Regions from separate parts of the Homo sapiens genome. Here region 1 is linked to region 2. Evidence: promoter capture Hi-C in human tissues and cell types (Jung and others, 2019). All regions are on one chromosome and are shown on one strand. Each heading gives the region's core, a stretch centred on a gene start or on the middle of the fragment in contact. The rest is flanking DNA. Distances are from core to core; before and after follow the strand shown. Region 1 overlaps ANKRD6 (ankyrin repeat domain 6). Region 2 holds the start of ANKRD6 (ankyrin repeat domain 6).

What was found. Contacts are between HindIII fragments. The study calls those that stand out against the background at their distance.
Region 1: a fragment that was not itself captured here is called in contact with the fragment with the promoter of ANKRD6 in region 2 in 2 of the 25 tissues and cell types used here (aorta and heart left ventricle).

Annotation. Positions count from the first base shown.
Region 1 is chr6:89,495,406-89,502,585 of GRCh38, reverse strand. All of the region lies in intron 1 of ANKRD6 (ankyrin repeat domain 6), which reads right to left. Among named protein-coding and RNA genes, the nearest start is that of ANKRD6, 66 kb to the right of the region's middle. The HindIII fragment of the contact is 4,889 bases long and covers 575-5,463 here.
Region 2 is chr6:89,430,612-89,437,482 of GRCh38, reverse strand. ANKRD6 (ankyrin repeat domain 6) reads right to left here and starts at 4,331. Exons shown (of 16, transcript NM_001242809.2): 1 at 4,108-4,331. LOC124901360 (a long non-coding RNA gene) reads left to right here. Exons shown (of 2, transcript XR_007059675.1): 1 at 1-4,066; 2 at 4,896-6,871. RefSeq lists a silencer at 4,060-4,539. The HindIII fragment of the contact is 2,888 bases long and covers 3,237-6,124 here.

The DNA.
Region 1 (7,180 bases), core at 1,770-4,269, 66 kb before region 2:
AATAAGACTAGGCTGTAAGCTTTTAGTAGATAGGGATTTGGACCTATTTCCCTTTATCCTTTTTTTTTTAAATAATAACGCTTTGCCATGTTTTTTAAATAAAGGTTCGCCATGGTTTCGCCACCTTGCCCAGGCTGGTCTCGAACTCCTGGGCTCAAGCGATCCACCTGCTTCAGCCTCCCAAAGTGCTAGGATTACAAGCATGAGACACCATGCCCAGTCTATTTCTCTTTATATCACCTTTGGAATGTTCAAATGATTATTCTGCATGAGATAATTATGGTTAAGTTATTTTTATTATAGTTACGTTAAGTATGGCAATGTTACATTATTTGAAATAACTATATACCTGAAACTGAAAAAATATTTTTCAAATAAACAGGCAGTGTAAACCCCAGATATGCCTACTATCCTAATAATTACCATGGTTGCTATGAAGAAACATGGTGGACCTTGGGGGAAAAAAGTTACAAACATCTAACAACCAATGAAGAAACTGAATAAAAAGAGATTTAAGGCAAGTGTAATTTAATGTTAACAATAAGAATATGGGAGGCTAGGTGAAAGTGTTAATCATCTGCAGCAGCTGCCCACCAGCACTTTCAGCTGGAAACCAATGAAGGTGAAACGATCCACAAACCAGACCCATTAAAAGAACACATAAATCCTGTGGGGAGGTGATGAGATGGGACATATTATTATTCCTACCACTCAGTTCAAGTCACTGCCTTTTTTTTTTTAAGATAACTCCTTGTATCAGAGACTTAGCACCACGACACCTTCTAAATGAGAAATAAATGAAATAAGAATCATAGTTACTGCATCACACAAGCACAAAACACCCATTCACTTTGGTGTAACAAACAGTATTTTCAAGCATCTCCACATGGATGTTATCCATAAAGCCCCTCCCCAGGTATCTGAAATAAGTAGTTTTCTTTAATGCAAAAATACTGTATGGTACACAATCAACAGGCAACTTGCTAAATTTTGCTTCCTTCCAGAGAGATGTGCTGTGGATTAGTTACAGAGAGTAAAAGCCACGCTGTGAATAAGCCTAGCATTCTCGTGGCTGGGAGCTCTGCTGAGCTCTTCAAAGGAATGTGTTTCTAAAGAATGTTTAAGTAAGCTTAAGGAGTTCCAAGCAACCCAATACTGACATATCTGGCATGCTGTATTTGCCAAGAAGGCATCCCTCTCAAATGCAAATGCAGATCAGAGCTCCACTGACTCCAAGCTCAACTTGAGGAAGGGAGACACAGAAGACTTTTTGCTGAAAGTATTTGTGTTTTTTCATAAGCATGTGTTCCTTAAAGAACAAAACCCTGGAAATACGTAGAAACAAGCCTTAGGCTTCCATAAGGGAAAACAATTAATCGTTAAGTCTTGATTTTGCAGGTACAAATTATGTTCCATATAAAGACAAGTAAACCTCAATGACGAAAAGCATCCCAAGTATCACATGTTCTGAAATTATGATGCAGGCAAAAGCTACTCCTAAGAAATGGCCTCAGGTGCAAGCCCCGTCTTGATGAGCATTCCTACCAAAGTGTCTTTCAGATACAGTAAGAGCTGTGCTTTTTTCTGTGCTAGAAAAAAAAAAAAAAAAAAAAGACTAATTGGGGACAGTCCTCTTCTGACTGTGTTAAGTGCATCACATTATCTTTATTATTTACTCAGCTCACAACCCATTGCCTTGGCCTGAAATAGATTAAGTTGGACCTAATAAATCAAAATACAACAAGAATCAACAGAAACTTAAAACTACGGCCCACAGTCCTGGATGCTAGCTCATCTATTATTAATGCCTAAAGCCACTAAAAGCCTCATAGCTCTAATGAGAATAGCAATTAACTTTGTTGTAGCTATTTACAATTTCCAAAGTGCTTTCCCATCCCACAGCCCCTTTAATCTCCTGGGAGATTAGGGACCTGGGAGGAGGGCGTTAGGCTCTTCCCCCATTACACGATTTCTGAGAACTCTCAGAAATTCAATGGCTTACTGAAGAAGACACATCTGGTGATACAGCCAGGACTTTTTCAATTCCAGTTACTATTCGTTTTTTAATGTATTGCTTTATTAAAAAATATATCATATGACATTATTAATAGTAGGACTGCCTGGTGAAAATTTTGCAGCCTGATGCATTTTTCTAACCATGGTATATTCATTCCATTTCCAGAGGCTGCCTGTACTGTGATATTTTTCATGCCAGGAACTTCAGGGTAGTATTTCTATCTTCAATATCACAGCACAGGCAGCCTCTGGCTTCTCTGCTTGGAATTCCACCTCCAAGTAAAGGGGAAGAAAAAAAGGAGAGTGAGTGATCTGTGGCTCTCTCCTGGGAGGCAGGGCTGGGAGCTCTAGAACTTAGCCCCTGTGTTGCTCAAGTGACCAGAAGCTGTCTCAGTGACAGAAGCCTCTGCTTCCTTCCTCTAGAAGCATCAAGGTCATCAACTGGAGCAAGATAAAAGAGCCACCAGAGGTGGGAAAGGTGACCATTCACATCACCCCAAGCCCAGGCCTCATAAAACTGGGGTGTGATGGAATCTGGAGAGACAGTGAACAAATTATAAGCCCAGATGCCTCGGAGGCTTTTCAGAGTACGATTTTATAGAGGCTTTAGGGATTTCAGTGGGCATTTCATGCTTTTTGTCTCCATTACTCTTTGGTTTGCAGTGCATTTGTCTTCTGTTTGGAATGCTGTTTTGATGCTGAAGTCTTGAGGAATCAAAGTGGGCATCATAACAGAGTTGAAAGGGAAGACAGGCTAAACTGAGGAGCAGCAGGGAAAGGGGACCGTGAGGGTGTTTAGGTTGTCCAAGTCAGTACAGCAGTGTCTCAAGAGCCCTGGGTGGCTTGCTCTGTGTAGGACTAAATCACGGAAGCAGACTAACGTTTCTTACCATGCATTATGAACTGGTATTGTGAACAGGAACATTTGTGGTACGGCACTGTCTCACACAATACAAGCTATTGGCACCCCTGGCCTGCAGGTGCTAAATAACAGTAGCACCCTCCCCCCAGCACTGCGACCCCAACCCACTGGTTGAGAAACGTTAAACTAGATAATGTCTAGGACTTCCTATCCCTAAAATTCCTCAAGTCCATGACTAGATGACTAGACCAGAATGGCATCAGGCGTGACAGTGCTCTGAGGTGGCAAAAAGGTGACAAACACATAAGTATCAATGAAGCATGTAATCAGCTGCAAGTAACAAAAAAGCAGGCTCACCAGGCCTCACAAAATAGAGGCTTCTTTTTCGCCCATATGAATAAGTCCTGGAGAAGGCAGTCTACAGTTGGTGACAGTTTACCATTACCCTCAGAAACTTAGGCTCCTTTTATTTCTAAATTTTGCCAGCCTTAATGTGATGGCTTTTATCCTTATGTCACCTCATGTTTTCAAAAAGGCTGCTCTACATCCGGGTGTTACATCCAGGTCCAGACAGGAAGAAGGCAAAGTCTTTTTCTACCTTAGATATGTCTTTTTATTCAGGAAGGGAGACCTTTCCCTACAGACTTGTGCTTGGCCAAACTATATCACATAACCACTCCTGGCTGGAAGGTGGTTAGGAAAATTGAACATTGAGATTTCCAGTCTCAACAGTAGAGGAAGGCAAGTGAGAGAGTGGTTGGGAATGGGCCCTGAGAAAGCCAACCTCAAGCATCTACCTCAGGAATCTTCATCCAATTGTGCTCACATTCTGCAAAGAAGCTGGCACATATCTCATACTCAATAATTATGAAAACATTAATGAATGGTCCACAAAGCTATTCAGGAGCTTATTTCTCCTTGCTTATTCTAATTCAAAGAATCCATCTAATCCATAGCAAACTGGGCTCCCAAATCAACAGAAACAATGACCGGATTGTATTCTCACCTTGGTCACAATTTCAGATTAGCAAATTTGAAATTATCCGTGTTCACTTCTCTGCATAGCAGGTTTCAAGAGAACACTTCACATCATTCTCTATAACACATCTCTCTCTACCCTTAAAACAAAACAAAACTTGGCATTTAGAATAAAAGCAAAATGTAAACAAGGTAAAAAAAAATATATATATATAAAGGGAAATCTATTATCTGCACAGACTGATGTTTGAATTAAGTACTATAATTATATATTACAGACCTAGCAGATATATAAGATTTATACATCATTATATCCCAGATTGTCATAGGTAGTGCCTTAAACATAGCAAGAATTTTATATTTTAATTTAATGTTTAGTTCTCTTACCTTCCCCCTTACCTAGGTAGCCACATGTTCTCAAAGTATTTTGCTCCTTAGCTATAGAAAAGAATGAGATAAGTACAAATGCATATATTAAAATATTTATAAAGTAATAACACTAGCTTCAAAATAACCCAAAGAAGTAGGAAAAGTGGGTGGAAGAGGGAGTAAGACTGACCATGGCTTCATAATTACTGAATCTGGGAGTGAGGTACTTGTGGGTGACTTACACTAGTCTAATTGTGAAATTTGCCACAATTCAAAGTTTTGTTTTTATTTGTTTTAAATCCCTCTGGAACTGATATTAACATATACTTCGTGGATGAACCTCAAAAACATTATGCGCAATGAAAGTAGCCAGAAACAAAAAACCATATACTATCTGATTCTATTTATATGTAATGTCTAGAAAAGGCAAATTTATGGAGGCAGAAAGGGGACCAATGGTTGCCTGGAGCTAGGGGTGGTAGTGGGGACTGATCACTAAATGGCATTAGGAAACTTTTTGGAGTAATGAAAACGTTCTCAAACTGGATTCTGATGATGGTTGCACACTGTGTGAAATTACTTTAAAAATCACCAAACTGCATAGTTATAATGGATAAATTTTATGATATATAAATTATACCTTAATAAAACTATTTTAAAATTCGAAAGCTCTGAAGATACACAGATACACAGAGAGAGAGAGAGAAAAAAACATATCCACTGTTATTTGCTAATACTACACTTAGGAAGACAAGACTTGCAGGTAAAGTGTTTAAAAGACACAATTTAGAAAACAAGACAGTTTCCTAGGATTTCAAAGATCCCCTATTATTGTGGAAAAGCAGCATCTAGTCATATATACCATTTCTTGTAGTCTTCCTACAAAGCAGAAAATTATAAATAGAAAAAGAAAAAAGGAAACAGAGGTCTGTTTTTGGTCCAGCTGAAGCAGTCAGCCCCTACTTTACGCAGCAGAACTCACCAGGAGGTAGGAACTTACCAGGACAAGGAGGATAACAGTCACAAAGCAGGAGACAGGTATGCTGAGTGAATGAATGGATGAATAAAGAAATAGTAGTTTAAAGCTTCAAATTCAATTTTAAATATCCTAAATGATCAGCCTGTACCAAAGTAATTTTTGTAGATTCAGAAAACCATGAATGGAAACCTGGTTTTTGTTGCAAAGTAATTTTTTGTTTGTTTTTTAAACTTTTGGGAGAATCTAATCTGTTCATAATCACCTCAGATCAAACCTACCTGATAAGGAGGGAAACAATTAATTTGAAAGTTCAGAGAGAAAGCATCCCTGACAAGTTGGAATTTATACAAAACAGAAAAGAAGAAGCTATAAACTCACCCAGAGCAGGGGACATTCTGTTTGGGGTAGAAGCTTTGGCTGCTGCAAAGTAAGAAGTGGAATAATTTTTCATCAATATTCTCAGATGCTCTATTAAACAATAAAGGTGAGTGTTTATGCTTAGATGTTATGACAAACTTCTTATTTGCAGACCTAAGTTTTCCAAATTCTGAAACATAATAAAAGTTTGTTGTCACTTGAAAACAGACAGTAGGATTTAAGTTTTATCTTTCTCCCGGATCACCTGAGATCAGGAGTTTGAGACCAGCCTGGCCAACATGGCAAAACCCCATCTCTACTAAAAATACAAAAAATTAGCTGGGTGTGGTGGCAGGTGCCTGTAATCCCAGCTATTCGGGAGGCTGAGGCAGGAGAATTGCTTAAACCCGGGAGGAGGAGGTTGCAGTGACCCGAGATCGCACCACTGCACTCCAGCCTGGAGAAGAGAGAGAGACTCCATCTCAAAATAAATAAATAAATTAATTAATTAATTTTATCTTTCCCCAGGGCACATCCCTGAAAGGGCAAAGGGAGAAAAGACAGACTTCCTGGGCCTGGTCCCGACGGTACTACCGGCATATCTCTGCCCACATCTCTGTGTTTACACGTTGACTTCAGTGAGTTTCCTGCAAGCTTGTTATCAACAGGATCCCAGCTGGTAATTTACTCTGCCCTCTGCCATTTAATCATTCCAACAGAACCTCACTTACGGCGTACCCTAGAAGACCTCACACCCCTTCACAGGCAGAATTCTGTTCTGTTATTCATTCAAACATTGTCTTCCCAAAGGAAATTCCTAAGTACTTTAATTATGGTGGGGGGGGGGGCAGTGTGGAAAAAAGCTTGCTAATCCCCATTGTCAGTGTTCCTGAGACCTGGAGAAGCACAACTCCGGAGTCTTCATTTTGTAGATGGGAGACAGGCTTAGTAAGATGTCCTAAAGACTGAAGGTGGCCACCAGTTAGCTCCAGGATTCTTTCTCTTTCTTGGGGGCCCATGGAATTGCATATGAACATGTACACTGGGGTCAACAGCATGGACTCCAAATCCTGATGCCACAATTACTACACAAGAGAATGTGCGCAAGTCAGAAACTTTCTGAGCCTCAGTTTCCTCACCTAAAAAAAACAGAGATAATACCTATAACTTGCAGGTGGTTGTAAAGGTAAAATGAAATAAACAAAAAGTGTCCTAGACAGCATGCAGCAAAGGGCTGGTGTTTGATAAATGCAATTTACTGAATGCAATAAATTATAATGAGCTGAATGTAACATAATTAAATTACAGTATTGAATTCTTACAAAGCCCTATGAGAGAGTTTGTTTGATAAGTAAAAAGCACTACTTTCTCATCCCGTAGTAGAAAAATGAGCCAACGGAAGAGTACTGAAAATACTAAGAAAGTAGGGCTTCCCTACACCTGAAACATCAGCAGGAGCCACCTGCAGAGTTGTAGAGTTGATTCCATTTATATAGTACCTGTCAGAGTCCCAGACACAACACAAGCCGACATCTACGTGCAAAGAGGTGAGCCCATCAAAAGAGCTGTACTGGGCTCAGCCCTGGTCCTATCTAGAGATTAGGTCAACTTGGGGTCTG
Region 2 (6,871 bases), core at 3,082-5,581:
GAGGGCACAGAGAGATGTGGCAGTTGTGAGACTTCAGTTCCACATCTGCCCTATTCAGAAGTCCAAGATGTTCATTCTGGGACTTCCTTTGGCTCTTGAGGAATTGGTCCTGGAGTTTTCAGGATCCAGATGAATAGCTGGGGGCTCTGAGGAAAAAGAACTGGTCGGGCTTATCTGGGGTCTGAGCAGAAAGAAAGCCTCTTGTAACTGGTGGGGGAAAGATATGTCAGAGAACTGAAATGGGATAAGACATCCAAATAAAGGGGCCTTTTATGGGGTGGGGGTAGGTAGGAATCTGTAAATATTTCCTTATAGCGCTTACTAACCTTTTTTGACTTAGGAAACCATTTGAGAATCTGATGAAAGCTATGGAACTTCTTCCCCCTCAAACATACATAAGAGCATTCACTTAAATACTTATACATAATTTTGGGAGATCTTAGAGTATTTGTAGCCCACCACTGAACCCCAGGTTAAAAATTCTTATTTTAGTGACAAATTTAATAGCTGATCCTCAGGTTTATAAAGGAACCCACCAGTAAATAATGCAGACACTTCCCTATAAAAGAGAGAGAACATAGCTATTTCTTCCATCTCTTCCCCCTTGACGGGATGAGGAAGAGCTGGGAAATAGAGATAATGTCACCCCTAAGCTTTTCTCTGCTGCTGTCCCTAACCTCAGTGCCTTGGTACAGTCCAGCAGTGGGGCACCATCAACAGAATTTGTTTTTAAAAAACGTTTAAAAACTTTATTTTGAAATAATATTAGTCTTACATAGAAGTTGCAAAAATAGTACATGAATTCCCTATTCTGTCCTCCCCCTACCCCTGGTAACTACCATTCTACTTTCTGTCTCCATGTGTATGACTACTCTAGGTACCTAATATAAACAGAATCATACAATATTGTCCCTTCTGTGACTAACTTATTTCACCTAGCATAATGTTTTCAAAGTTTACTATTTTGGACCCCCTGACTGGGTGTTTTGCAACTATAGCAAATTAAAATGGGCAATGTAGAAAATCTGAAAATTTCAATGGAAACTAGTATACCAAACATGTCTGGACACTGCTGAACCTATTAACTGGAGGTAGTTTGCAGTTTCAACAGTAGATCATGTTACATTCCTATCCAAGACAATACATCTTTGCAAAGCTGGGTTTTCTGTGGCTGCTGTGATAAAAGCCAAATGCTGCGGAAATATTAATGTGAAACAGGAAATGAGAGTGGCAGTGTCCAACACGATCCCAAGGTTTGAAAAGTAGTATAGGCACACACATACGGTTAGTAATTATGACTTTAAAGGATGTAAAATATTTTTTCTCTCAGTTTATGTATATTATTTTTTCAAACAACTTCTAAGTAAATACTCAGTTGTTTGAACCTAACTACTAACTACTGAAACCTAAGGGAATTGTGAAAAAATTACTAACTACTGAAGCCTAAGGGAATTGTGAAAAAATTAACTCAGACACTAAGGGCTCCATGAAACCAAGTTTCAGAATCTTTGCCTTAACCAAGAAGTAACAAAACAGTGTAAGATTCACCAAGGAAAGCCATGTGACCTTGAAGAAATAAAACAAAGACAATAACACAAACATATCAACCAGGAAGAGGAATTTGGGTTGTTAAAACCATTTTTAAAGGTCACTCTTAGCTTAATCCTTCAAATCCCACACAATGCCTTCTGGATAATTTGCATTTTTAAAAAAACTTCTAAAACGCACGCACCCAAATTACTGTTTTCCCACTTCTTAGGGACTCAAGCAAAGCTTTTAAAATCACAGCCATCAATCTATGTTGGAAGAGACTGGGTCTCCCCTACACAGACAGAACACACCTTCGGGATCCGTGCCAGGGAGACAGGAGAAACTTGGAAGAAGACAGAGACTAAAAGATCCCCCGACTTTGAGACTTTCGGCTTTTTTGTGGTTTGTATCTTACCCTCAATAGCCTGCTTTTAAGTTCAATAACAATGCTCCTTGAGAAAAAAAGAAAAATAAAGAATGCTCCAGGTTATTGTGGAAATGCTTGTTGGGAAACTTCCTTTCCTCAGGGTTTTTCATATAAGCAAGGGAAAAAGTTAACACAACATCCAGAATAGTGGTTCCTTGGGTGGGAGGCGAGAAGTGAGTGGAAGGCAATGGAGAGGGGTACTCAGGGGCTCCAGGGGCCTGGCGATGTTCTAGTTCTTCAGCCGGGTGACTCGTACTTGGGTGTGATCTATTGTTATTCTTTACATTGCACTCTAAGGTTTATACTGTCTGAGTGTATGATGTATTTCACAGTGGCAGCACCAGCATCTCTATACAAGAAGGAGGCCTTGGGAGTTGGAAGTGTGCCTTGTCTCTAAGCTGAGTTGGATCGCAGGCAGTCTGCTTTTACATGGAGCATATGCTTATCTGGAAAGGCTTTGGGGAGGCTGATGAGTTTAAGTGGGAGACTAAGATTAATTTTTGGTGCCACCATGAAAAAACAAGGAGTTAATAAATTCACATTTTTAAAAATTACCATTGGTTTATACCTCCCAACACTGCGACTAGTTGTTTTCTGGTCTCTTTAATTCCTCTTCATCCCTCTTCTACCCTTCCCCCATGTCCAGTATGACCTAGAGGGCAGAAAATACTCCCCAATTTTAATTTGTATCCCTAATTTTTAAAAAATTTTTTGTTACCATATGCTAAACAAATACTAAAGATGACAAAGTGTAACATGTATCGGTATAGACACACCTACTACACTCAAGAACAAGGCTGCAGACCAGTACAGTGGCTCACACCTGTAATCCCAACACTTTGGGAGGCTGAGACAGGAGGAGTTCGAGACCAGCTTAGGCAACACAGTGAGACTCTGTCTCTAGTAAAATAAAAAAATTCAAAATTAGCCAGGTGTGGTGGTCCCAGGCTGAGGTGGGAAGATCGGTTGAGCTAAGGAGGTCAAAGCTTACAGCCTGGGCAACAGAGCGAAACTCTGTCTCAAAACAACAACAACAAAAACCCCGCCAAGGCTGCTATTGGTGTTTTGGGGATGAGAAACCCCCAATCAGTATACCATGGATGGGACCACCTTGGACCCAGGTGTGTTTGTCTTCATTGCCCAAGTTCTTTCCACTTACACTGGCCTAACAGAACCTAAGCATGAATGAATTCAACATCCAACAGGTTCGCAAAAGGTGTCTAACACACAAGAGTACAATGCCAAGCATTTCATTCCCATCACTTCACTGCATGAACACAATACTACGAGGTTATGTACAATACCTGCAGTTTAGAGTTCTAAAAACTAAGGTTTAAAGAAGTGGGTTTTCCAAAGTCACACACCTAACAAGTGGTGGAGTCAGAACTCCATCTCACGGGCCCGAAGTGGCTCTTTACTACCACGTGACCCATCTCATGCTACCTCGCGGGGGAAACATTCTTGACCAGCTTTGAGACATTCAAGTCCCTCTTGGGTCACAAATAATGCTGCACTTCCCCTCCAGTCCCCGAGATCTACCGGAAGCAACACACTTAAAAGCCCAAGATAAGCTTGGGTGAGCTGATGTCTGGACCCAAACCAGACAGCACGCCGACTCTCTGGACCCCGGGAGATGCCACTTGCTGAGGCTTCGCCGATGGGGCTCCTGAGGGGTATCGGCCCCTCTCCTGCGACTGCACCCTAGTGCTGTCGTCCAGGGCGGGGAGGGACGGGGTCATTCGGAGGCGGCCGCAGGCCAGGGACCTACCCTCCTACGCGCCGCAGACCGCGGGGTACTCGGACCCCCGCCCCCACCGCCCTTCCTTCAAACTGCAAGCGAGCAGGAGAACGAGGGACGAGCCCCAGAAGAAAGTTCTCCACCTCCCTCGCCCGAAGTTCCATATTCCAGGGAGGCAACTGATGCCAGGCGAAGAGGGAGGCGCCCCGGGGGGACCCCCTCGCGCCGGGCGTTTTCGGAGGCCGCAGGCCAGGGGGCGAGGCGCGGTGTCCGGGTCTCCTCCGCGGGCAGTCGGCGATCCTGGGGTGCCGAGGGAGCAGCGCCCCCTTCCCCCGACAGCGTCCTCCCCGACCTGAGGCGCCCACCCCGGTGTAAGCGGGGGTCCCAGGGAGCCGGCGAGGTCGCCTGGTACCTTTCTCTCCCGCGCCGGACGTCCGCGCCGCAGGGACCAAGGCCGGCGACACGGTGGGGGGCGAGGGGCGAAGACGGGGACTGGCTCCCGCTGGCTCCGGCGGCCCCAGGGCCTCGGCGCCGCCCAGCGCCGTGCCTCCAGCCGCCCGCGCGCCAGGCAGCGCTCTCGGCTCCTGCGGGTTACCTGTGGCCGAGCCCGCCGCGTCCGCCGCCGCAGGGCCCTCTGCCCCGTCCCGCCGGCCCCGCCCCACCCCTGCCGGCGGCTCCTACGCCGGTGCCGCAGCGCCTCCCAGCGGCGAGCCGGGGCACGGCAGGGACCCTCGCGAGAGAGAGGTGGCACCGCGGAGGCCCTGGGGCTGGCCCCGATCTGCAGCCCTCTCCTGGGTGGGGCCACCGCCTTCTGAAGAGTGGGAGGAAGGGGGCCTATAGTAGGGTGAGGTTTTCCGCGTGGGGGTTGCCAGGAAGTGTATTGGGAGGGGAGGAGAATTAGCAGGAGGAACCTCCCACCTTCACTCAATTCGTGGCCAAGTGGATATTTCAATATAACCATAGCTCACTTAACTGGGGCTGCTCAGTACAAACTGAACAACAATGATGAATGACCCAGATTTATTGGGGTAGCTGGAGAGGGGAAAGGAAGCCTTTATTTCTAACAGCTTGACTATAAGTATCTTGTTGGAATCATCCCATATGGAAATGGCAAAAGCATTGAGCGAGCCTGACCCCCATATTCATATCACACTTTACATACCATTATCTCAGTCTGGTTTTGTCTATTTTCATTCACAGCCACTTCTTCAATACCTAGAAGAGCTCCCTGAACACAGGAAGCATTCAATAAGCTACTGTTGAATACATGTAAGATGGATGGGATCTCATTCCACCCTTTGAAGAAGCATGGACAGGTATCTGCTCTCCAAAGGCGGAGAGATGGAAGAGGAGGCAAGCAGCACCCTAAAATGGACTATCAATCTTACCTGAGGTTTTGGGACAAGCTTATCACGAATCTGATTTTTTTTTCTTTCTTGCTTAAAATTTTTTTTTGAGACGAAGTCTCACTCTGTCACCCAGGCTGGAGTGCAATGGCACCATCTAGGCTCACTGCAACCTCCGCCTCCCAGGTTCAAGTGATTCTCCTGCCTCAGCCTCCTGAGTAGCTGGGATTACAGGTGCCCGCCACCATCCCTGGCTAATTTTTGTATTTTTAGTAGAGATGGGGTTTCACCATATTGGTCAGGCTGGTCTCGAACTCCTGACCTCGTGATCCTCCAGCCTCGGCCTCCCAAAGTGCTGGGATTACAGGCATGAGCCACTGCACCCAGCCGACTTTTCTTATTCCCTCTGAAACAGGCCTGGTTTCCAGGAGAAAAGAAACATGATGATTTCTTCCTTTTCCTTAAGATGTTTGTTTCCCTCTCTCCTTCAGGGATCATTAGGCAGGAGAGATCCCAAGAGCCTGTTTCCACACTAGGAAGGGGAAGTTCTTGATTTTCTCCTACTGCTTCTGAAATTTTCCCAACCCCATAGTCACAGCTGCAGTTTTACCTAACAGGATGTGAAATCTCTCTTCTGAGTATCCTTTGGCCTTTTCCAGACTTTTTTTTCCCCCTTAAGATGGGGCCTTGCTGTGTCACCCAGGCTGAAGTGCAGTAGCCCACTGCAGTCTTGAACTCCTGGGCTCAAGCAATCCTCCTGCCTCTGCCTCCTGAATAGTTGGGATTACAAGTGTGCACCACCATGCCCAGCTAATTTTTTTATGTTTAACACAGAGGAGGTCAAGGCTGGTCTTGAACTCCTGGGCTCAAGTAATCCTCCGGCCTCAGCCTCCCAAAGTGTTGGGATTACAGGTGTGAGCCACCGCGCCCAGCCCTTCTTCAGATTTGTGCCCCATTCCTGTTGCTCTACACCTGGAGCTGATAGAAGAACACATTTCCTTTCTCTGCTGGCTTGTAGCTCCAGGTTTCTCTCCAGGCAGGTTACTAATGAGTTCCTAGATAACCCTCAAAGTCAAAGTTTGTACACATGACCTTTCTTTTTATTTTTTGAGATGGAGTTTTGCTTTTATTGCCCAGGCTAGAGTGCAGTGGTGCAATCTCGGCTCACTGCAACCTCCACCTTCCGGTTTCAAGCAATTCTCCTGCCTCAGCCTCCCAAGTAGCTGGGATTACAGGCGCCTGCCACCACGCCCAGCTAATTTTTTTGTATTTTTAGTAGAGACGGAGTTTCACCATGTTGGTCAGGCTGATCTCGAACTGCTGACCTTGTGATCCACCTGCCTCAGCCTCCCAAAGTGCTGGGATTACAGGTGTGAGCCACCGCGCCCAGCCACATGACCTTTCAATGTGATCATTTCTCTCTTGTACTTTTCCACATTGAGTTTTCCTAGCTAGTCCCTCGAATAAACTTCCAAAGATGCAAATGCTCAGTTTCCCTGATAGGCTTTTAAAACATCACCAGAAAGTCACATTGAGATGAGATTTTAAGTTATATTTGTGGGTAGTCAGAGCAATGACCCCGAAAGAAACAGAAAGCCCAAGCCAGCCTGCAAGACATGTGAGCGCTCCTGGGAACTGACTGGTCTGCTTTTGTTCCCAGACTTTGATTAATGGGGATTCCTGGCAGGAGGTCTCATGAGAGCCAAAGCAGGCAGTGGCTGAGCTGCTTGGAGATCTTGCTTGCTTATCTCCAAGTGGGCAGACAGTCTTTGGGCGACCAACGAAGAAGACTCCTAAATCTCCCTCTTTATGAGAAGGGCTCCCAGGCTG